Linked DNA regions of Homo sapiens: regions 2 and 3 are each linked to region 1. Evidence: promoter capture Hi-C in 16 types of primary human blood cells and fetal thymus (Javierre and others, 2016). All regions are on one chromosome and are shown on one strand. The core of a region is centred on a gene start or on the middle of the fragment in contact, and the rest is flanking DNA. Distances in the headings are between cores, read along the strand shown. Region 1 holds the start of PCBD1 (pterin-4 alpha-carbinolamine dehydratase 1). Region 2 has its middle 27 kb from the start of PRF1. Region 3 has its middle 11 kb from the start of NODAL.

Region 1 (2,964 bases), core at 295-2,794:
ATTTAGCTTTTATGAGGCAGCCTGCAGACTGGACACCATGTGTTGATTGGCAGGAGTTTTGAGACCCGCTTTCACCATTTACCAGCCAGGTGGCTGTACCTCTCTTGGCAGAACCTCCACCTCCACAGATCATCATGAGGTGCCAATGGGACACTTTAGGAAACTCCACTGCTATAAAGCAAATGTCATCTGCATTACAAAAAAAAAACTTCCTAAGGCAAGCAGGCTTGTGATGGGCCTGGTAGCATTTGGGGTAGCTGAAGCATCGCAGTGCTTTCCTAAGTCCGTCTTTTTTCCCTGCTGTTTTCCCTCCTGAAAACGTGAGCTCTCTCTGGACTGATGTAGCTTGGCCCCTCTCTTCCCCTCGGCTCTGGATGACTATAGGGATTGAATGGCAGCAGCGATTTGCATCATCTGCCCAGTAGGTAGGTCTCTACTCCAGAGCTGGCCTTCTCCCCGTGGCTGACCGCCTGGTCCGTGTATCTAGACAACCAGAAGTCAGCCAAAGCATCAGAGCCCACTGTTTACTTCCTTGGCTCTTAAAGGGGTGGGTGAGTCCAGGTGAGCTCTTAGGAGGCTTCCCTTTCTCGGTAGAGCCTTCTGGAACCCCCCAGGTCGCACAGCCTGCGGCTGAACTGACAAACCTTCCAGGTGCCGGCTCTGGAGACAGAGAGGGGGACGCTGCCCCGTTTGCCTCCTCTGGCGAGGTGTGGGGAGTGGTTACCGATTTCCCAAGCCTGCATCTCTGGGACCTCAGCGCCCCTCACAAACAGCCCCACTCATCCTCCCTCCCCCAAGTCCCTCTCCTATCAAAAGGCCCTCCCAGTCTTGCCTGCTCCGAAGGCCTGTGGACCAGAAATGGTCTGATGAAGCTCGCGAGCTTACAGCAGAGCAAGGGCCCCGCCCCCGCCCCCGCCCCGGGGGTGGGTGGGGGAAGCTCACGGGAGGAGGGCTGCTCCAGCGCCACCAAGCCCCCGTGGCCTGGCACGGGCCTCAAGCCGGCGCGGGGAGTGGCTCTGGGGCCAGCATACCGGCGCAGAGCGTGAGTCCCAGGCAGACCCCGTACCCAGAGTGCCAGCGGGAAGGGGCAGCGGACAGGCACGCACACGAGCGCGCAAACTCAGCCTCCCTCTCGCTCCCACCCCAGTATAAAGCAGAATCGGGCCACCAAGGGGACGAGATCCGTGGACTCCTCCACGACTGTCTTCCCCGGCCCAGGAAGGTCGTAGGCCCCGCCCCCGGAAGGGTCCCGGAACAAGCACTGGCCGGGGTCAGGGCAGGCCTGGCCTCCCAACTGGGTGGGATTCGAACCCGCCACCGCCCCTCTCAGGGCTTCAGCTTCCCCTCCCCGCCGCCAGCGACAGAGAGCCGGGCAGAGACCCCACTTTCGGACCCCGGCGGCTCCGCAGGGGACTCGAAAAGACTTTCCCCCGCCCCTTCCCGCTCCCACCTCGCCCGCGGCTGCCCCGGCCCCGCTGCCCCGATCGCGGCCGCGCACCCCTGGACTCACCATGGCGCGGGCGGCAGCAGGTGGCCAGCGGAGAGGGCAGGCGGCGGCCGGGCGCGCAGGCTGCCGTCCCGGGGCGGGGCCGCGCTCGGGCCGCCCTCCGGTAATGATTAACGTCCCCAGCCAGGGACGCGCTCGGCCTGCTTGCTTCCAGCACTTTCCTCGCTGCTCAGAGCCATCCTCCGTGCTTGTTTCAGGGAGCTAGGGTGAAGCATGAGGGCTCCAAATGCCCGCTTCTGGGTTGGAATCCCACCCCGCCGCTTACAGCTGGGTGGCCCTGGGCGCCAGAATACCTATTTTTTTCTTTATAAAAATCTCTTATTTGGATATAATTGACATGCAATAAATTGCACATATTCAACGTGTACAATTTGATAAATTTTAATGTTTCCCTCGTGAGACCATCACCGAGATCAACATTATGAACATATCATCATCCCTGCAAGTTTTCCCTTGCCCTTTGGTAACCCCTTCCTCCCGAAACCACCTGGCCAGGCAAGCACTGATGTACTTTAGGTCACTATAAATTAGTTTGCATTTTCTAGAATTTTATGTAAATGGACCATAGAGTATATACTAGGCAGGATAACTGTTTTGGGGTTCAGCCATGTTGTTGCCTATATCAATGGTTTCTTCCTTTTATGGCTAAGTAAAATTTATTTTATAGTATTGCATTGTACAGATAGACTACAATTTGTTTAGCGATTCACTATTGGACATTTGCGTTGTTTACCTTTTGGCTATTACAAATAAAGCTGCTGCGAATATGGTGCACAAATCTTCGAAAGTACGTATGTTTTAATTTTCCTTGAGTAAACACTTAGGAATGGAATGCCTGGGTCATGTGGTAGGTGGACTTTTATAACTTATTAGGAAACTGCCATACTGTTTTGCAAAATGGTTGTATCATTTTATATTCCTAGCAGCAGTGTATGAAGGTTGCAGTTCTCTGTCCTCACCAACACTTGATATAGTCAGCCTTTTAAATTTTAATTGGTGTGTAGCAGTATCTCATTGTGGTTTTGAGTTTCCTTGATTAGTAATTGTATTGAATGTCTTTTCATGTACTTATTTGCTAAGGATAAGTTTTTTTTATTGAATAGCATGTTTGAATTTCCTGCCCATTAAAAAAGAAATTGGGTTGTCTTCTTATCGAGTTTTGAGGGTGTTTTATTCTGGATATAAGGACATGATCAGGCAGTGATTTGCAAATATTTTCTTTGCATTATCTTATGGTGCCTTTCAAAGAGCAAACGTTCTTAATTTTGATGAAATCCAATATATCAAATGTTTCTTTTATGGATTTCTATTTTGATGTTGTACACATAGAAATCTTGGCCTAACCCAAGATCAAAAGTTTTCTCCTATGTTTTATAGCTTTTGGTTTTACATTTAGTCTGTGATCCACTTTGAGTAAATATTTTTATATGCTTCAAGTTATAGATCCAGATGCACTT
Region 2 (2,897 bases), core at 331-2,830, 310 kb before region 1:
CTGAGGCCTGCACTAAGTTCTTTACACACAACATTGAAAATGGGCTAATTCCATCAGGTCTACCTGCCCTGCTTGCTTTGGGTTGCTTTTTTAATTCTCCCCCTCCCAAGCTTTTTCTATGAAGCTGAAGGCTGTGGTAGCTGAAGGCCTCACCGCTGAACACTGGAACTTAACCTTCACTGGCTACTTTATAGATAACATTCATAGGTCACCATGGTAATATTCACTTCAGTGTTTTTCAGGAACTTGGCCAGCGCCTGTCTAGTTCAAACTAGCTGAGACCCCGATCCTTCACCCTAGACTGCCCAAGTGCCCAAGGGGTGGCCTTTTGAAGTCAGAGGGCCGACGACAACACCCTCAGATCATGCAAATGCCACCATTTTTGTTGCATGTGCCCTGTGAAGTGCCGTGAAGCCTGACTACCCTTGCTCAGGAGGAACCTGTCACTTCATTTTTTTCCCACTGCCAATCACCTGTCCCCATGATTTAGATCATCCCACTTCCCTTACCTGTAAATATCCTTAAGCCTTATCCTCAAGGGTCGGGTGGGGGTGGTTTTGAGAGCTGTTCTCCCACCTCCTCATGTATTGCCCTTGCAAATCTTTCTCTTTTGCAAAACCCATGTCATCATGATTTATTCACTGTGCAGAGGCAGAATGAACCTGGACCTAGCCAATCTTACTTAACAATTTTTGTATTTTCAGTAGAGGTGGGTTTTCACCATGTTGGCCAGGCTGGTCTTGAACTCCTGACCTCAAATAATCCATCCAGCTCAGCCTCCCAAAGTGCTGGGATTACAGGCGTATGCCACCGCGCCCAGCCCATTTGATGAGTTTTTACAAATGCATACACCTGTGTAATTCAAACCTCTAACAGGATATATAGACTTGCATTGGGGTTTTTAATGTTAAAACTTACAACAATACTTCAAATAATGTCTTCAAACACAAATCTTTGTACAGGTAATAATTAGACTCCTTTGGGTGACATATTTCAGAAAACAGCCCCAGCTAGCTTAAGCAAAGAGGGAGAGTGTAAAAAATATGACTCCATGGTACGGTGGCTCACACCTGTAATCCCAGCAATTTGAGAGGCTGAGGTGGGTGGATCATGAGGTCAGGAGTTCAAGATCAACCTGGCCAAGATGGTGAAACCCTGTCTCCACTAAAAATATAAAAATTAGTGCCAGGCACCTGTAATCCCAGCTACTCGGGAGGCTGAGGCAGCAGAGGTTGCAGTGAGCCAAGATCGCGCCACTGCACTCCAGCCTGGGTGAAAGAGAGAGACTCTATCTCAAAAAAAAAAAAAAAAAAAATATATATATATATATATATATATATGTGTATATATATATATATATGTATATATATATATGTATATATATGTGTATATATATATGTATATATATGTGTATATATATATGTATATATATATGTGTGTGTATATATATATATATGTGTGTGTATATATATATATATGTGTGTGTGTATATATATATATATATATATATATATGACCAGCAGAGGACCATGGCAGGAATGCAGCAGGGACTGGGACTAGGAGGCTGCCCGGGGAGTCCTGGAAGCTCCCTCTGTGTCCTCCATAGGGGTGCACCACTCACTTCTCCCCTCAGGACAACCTGCTGCTGCTGCAGAGAGAACAGTTGGACCACCTTCCAGCAATTGCACCTCTGGATCCAACACAGTGTTCGTGCCAAGGCCTTGCTCCCCCATCCAGCACACTCCACCCACAGGCTGCTGACTGAGCAGGGCAGGGATATAGAGCTGGCTGTGTCTGCCCCTCCATCCTGCAGCGAGGCTGGGAGCCTCCCCATTGGTCTGACCAAGAGTTGCCCAGAGCTATCCTGCAGTGTCAGGCTTGTTGTGTCTACTGAGGAAAGATGAGGTTCATACACATTTGGAAAGGAGAGCTTTATTTCTCATAAAGGGTTGCAACCTGCTGGGTGGTCATTCTGACAGGCTGGGAAACGTAGCCTCTGGCCAGAAGCCAGAAACAGACACTTCGAAGGTGGGGAGAATAAGACAGGGATTTACGCTGAATAGGGTGTCCAGATATACATATTCAACAGGTTATAGGAGCAGCAATGAATATTCACAAAGGGGAGGCAAGGGCATTCGTAGTAGGGTAACATGTATGTAACACGTGTCCCAGATTCACTTTGGGGTGGAGACTTAACATTTAAACATATTACAGTTAGGCCCTCTACATTAAAACGGGAAGCAGAGGACACGAAGGCCCTCTGGGTGCAGCTTCTGGAGACTGGCCAGAACCACTCTGTGGCCAGGGTTTTTTTTTTTTTTTATCAGGAGGGACTGCTTAGCGGTTGCTGTGTCAAGCTGCAAAAGGGGAGGGGCTGTGTTAGGCAGTTGGTTGGTACCAGCGTGAAGCAGTGGTTTCTGTTTAACCCTTAGAGAAGAAAGCCTAATGGTTAGGGGGGGAGGGGGCATAATGAGGCCTGTCCAACCTCCTGTTCCATCATGTCCGGGAACTCCATTTTTAAGGTTTCTCGGGGGTCCCCTAGGCCAAGAGGTGGTCCATTTGGTCAGTTGAGGGGCTTAGGATTTTATTTCTCTGGCTCTTTCCCTCTCTCTTTTTGTGGGTATTAGAGCCACACTGTGGTTTGAAGGCCCTTCCTGTTGCCTTCTGTTTCCTCCTTTGTTCTTCACAGGTGTTTCGCCAAATAGCTTTCTTGCACAGACTTGAACAACCCACCCTCTGCCTTGTCTCAGCCTCTCTGGGCACCTGCTTTGTCTCTGAAGGCCGGCACTGCTGTGGCACTGCTTGGTGAAAATGACCACCCTGGTTTCCAGCTTCACATGGTACAGTTCCAGCAGACTAAGAGCTGGTTCTTGCCCTGCCCTATGCTGCCATCTCAA
Region 3 (2,775 bases), core at 136-2,635, 460 kb before region 1:
AAAACTGGACTGGAGGAAGCTTTCCCATCGGAACTGTCTAGGGGTTTAGGGCACAGGCTTTGGAGTCAGGCAGCTTCAGTTCCAGCTGTGCTGCTTAGTAGCCAAATTACCCAGCAGAATTCTTATTCTACAAGCCTCAGTTTTCTCTAAAATAAGGTTAAGAAACAACTTTTCTAGGTGGTTGTCAGGCCCAGTTGATGTCATAAAGAGCCCAGTGCCTAGTATACTCAGCTCAGGAAACAGTATTTAAGGGACTCAAGCACAGCCCGGTTGACATGGACACCCAGAGATTATTCAGCCCCCTCTCCTCTTCCCTCCAAGTGTGTAAGTTTAGGAATGGAACAGGTTTGAGCACTGCAGCTACCACCTACTCATGGAACCTATAGAAGGACTAAAGGATCTCTTTAAGGGAAGATGGGACCAAAACCTTAAAAGCGCTTTCCTACATCCTTTACTCTGCCCTAAAGGCAATTAGGATAGGTAAGGATCTTACTGCTAATGAAGACTTTTTTTTTTTTGAGACTGAATCTTGCTCTGTTGCCCAGGCTGGAGTGCAGTGGTGCGACCTCGGCTCACTGTAACCCCCGCTTCCTGGGTTCAAGTGATTCTCCTGCCTCAGCCTCCTGAGTAGCTGGGATTACAGGCACGTGCTACCATGCCTGGCTAATTTTTATATTTTTAGTAGAGACGGGGTTTCACCACGTTGGTCAGGCTGGTCTCAAACTCCACACCTCGTGATCCGCCCGCCTCAGCCTCCCAAAGTGCTGGGATTACAGGCATGAGCCACCGCGCCGGACCGAAAAGGAAGACTTAAAGACGGAGATAAACCCCAGGTTAGGGGTGCTATCCCAGGGTCACAGCCACTCCCCACATCTCTATGGATCCCGTGTTTCTGTTTCTTACAATGTTTCTAATTTCTCCAGGCTTACCTACTGCCAGGCCCACCCACTTCCTCAGCCAAGGAGTGTAATGTGTCCAATTTTTACCACTCACAACTGACTTGGCACTTCTTGAGAGCAAGTTAAAATAACTCTTGAGTGCTCTTAAAACCCTAGGTTCAGGCCAGGTGCAGTGGCTCACAGCTGTAATCTCAACACATTGTGAGGCCAACACAGGACAAGAGCTTGAGCCGAGAAGTTGGAGACCAGCCTTGGCAACATGGCGAGACCCTGTCTTGACAAAAAACAATCTAAAAAATTAGTTGGGTATGATGGTGCATGCTTGCAGTCCCAGCTACTTGGGAGGCTGAAGTAGGAGGATTGCTTGAGTCCAGGATGGCAAGACTGCAGTGAGCCATGATTGTGCCACTGCACTCCAGTCTGGTTGACAGCAAGATCCTGTATCAAAACAACAGAAAACATCCCAGGTTCAGACAGGACACAATTCTCCAAGGTAGTATTTAAAGTGACTTATAGAGCCTTCAGCAAGCACATGGCCTAGAGCATGGAGCTATTCCCTAGGCTCGGGTAGGTAGGCTTTGCCCCAGTGACTCTGTCCAGGCAACAGAATGACTCTGCTGCTGACGTAGCAAACACTGAGCTTTCAGCAGGGGTCAGCAAAACACAGAGTTTCACTACTTTGTGCACTACTTTTATTTGACATGAGGCAATGCCCTGTCGTCAAGGGTTTGTTCTTGGAGTCAATACAGCTGACTGTAAACACTCCCACAAGCTGTAGCTACAAATAGCTTGACCTTTCGCTCTCTGGCACCAGCCATGTAAGAAAGTCCTGGGGTGGGATGTTCACTTCTAAGAACTAGTTCAGTAGTGTAATTGGGTTCAAATGTTTGGTTCTAAAGGCTAAGGCTTGGATCCCAAGATAGGTGAGCACAAACCTCTAGTTGCTGTTAAGCAGTAAGTGCCCGTAGGGCTCAAGAGACCAGAGCTCAGCTCTTGGCCCTGCCACTCCTAGCTGTGTGGTCAGGCCCTGAGGCCTCCCTGGGGTCTCACTTAGGAATGGGGATCAGACAAGCTGACCTCACAAGGTTGTCCCTGCTCTGCTGTTCTGTATATGGGCAGATGCAGAATCCTGTTGATTCTGAATTGTTGGATCTGGGCAGTCTATTTCTAGTCCAGGCAGTGAACAGCTGGATCAGCTTTGTTGTGGAATCAAGGCACTGAGGTTTCTCAAGCCCAGGCCTGGCTCCAGCAAATCCAGCCCCTTTCTGGGCCATGACTATGGTGTTGACTCAACCAAAGCCTCAGTTGAGTTCGTCTGAGCTCAACAGGGTTCACAAATGATTGGAATCATTTTCTTTAGCATAAGTGGGTAGGCTTCTTGGGAAAGCAGAATGGGGTAGATATACTGTGGGCTCACATTCCCAATAAAGTGGCCCCTTTGCTCCATGAAACTACAAAAAAAGTGCCCCTGCTTTGGCAATGCTCAATGAGATCAAGCTGTTAAGAGCAGAATTGCTTCTTTTGTTTGTTTTATTTAAACAGAGACAGGTTCTCACTATGTTGCCCAGGCTGGTCTTGAACTACTGGACTCAAGTGATCTTCCCATCTCAGCCTCCCAAAGTGCTGGGATTACAGGCATGAGCCACTGCACCCAGCCAGAATTGCTGCCTTTGAGGTCTTTTTACCTGGAAGATAACTGTGGTCAGGGGTTTTTGGGGATAGAGCTGCCTCACTCAGGCTCCTTTTGCTGTGCTTCCCATGTGGAACCTGAAATTAAGTCTGTCTTAGAACCCTGAGTAACAAAAGAGCCGATAAAGGTTAGATTAAGGGCATGTGGCAGGGACTGGGTTTAGCAAGCTTTATAAGCTTTAGAGGG

Evidence for each region. Contacts are between HindIII fragments. The CHiCAGO score rates a contact against its expected background, and 5 or more counts as called.
Region 2: a fragment that was not itself captured here is called in contact with the fragment with the promoter of PCBD1 in region 1 in 1 of 17 cell types (megakaryocytes); the score reaches 5.3 in megakaryocytes.
Region 3: a fragment that was not itself captured here is called in contact with the fragment with the promoter of PCBD1 in region 1 in 1 of 17 cell types (M2 macrophages); the score reaches 6.2 in M2 macrophages.

The regions. Positions count from the first base shown.
Region 1 is chr10:70,887,021-70,889,984 of GRCh38, forward strand. It overlaps PCBD1 (pterin-4 alpha-carbinolamine dehydratase 1), which reads right to left and starts at 1,545. Exons shown (of 4, transcript NM_000281.4): 1 at 1,511-1,545. The coding sequence starts at 1,513. RefSeq lists silencers at 802-1,081, 1,412-1,661. The HindIII fragment of the contact is 14,850 bases long and covers 1-2,964 here.
Region 2 is chr10:70,573,838-70,576,734 of GRCh38, forward strand. No RefSeq gene overlaps it. Among named protein-coding and RNA genes, the nearest start is that of PRF1, 27 kb to the right of the region's middle. RefSeq lists an enhancer at 2,506-2,635. The HindIII fragment of the contact is 2,944 bases long and covers 109-2,897 here.
Region 3 is chr10:70,429,120-70,431,894 of GRCh38, forward strand. No RefSeq gene overlaps it. Among named protein-coding and RNA genes, the nearest start is that of NODAL, 11 kb to the right of the region's middle. The HindIII fragment of the contact is 2,737 bases long and covers 18-2,754 here.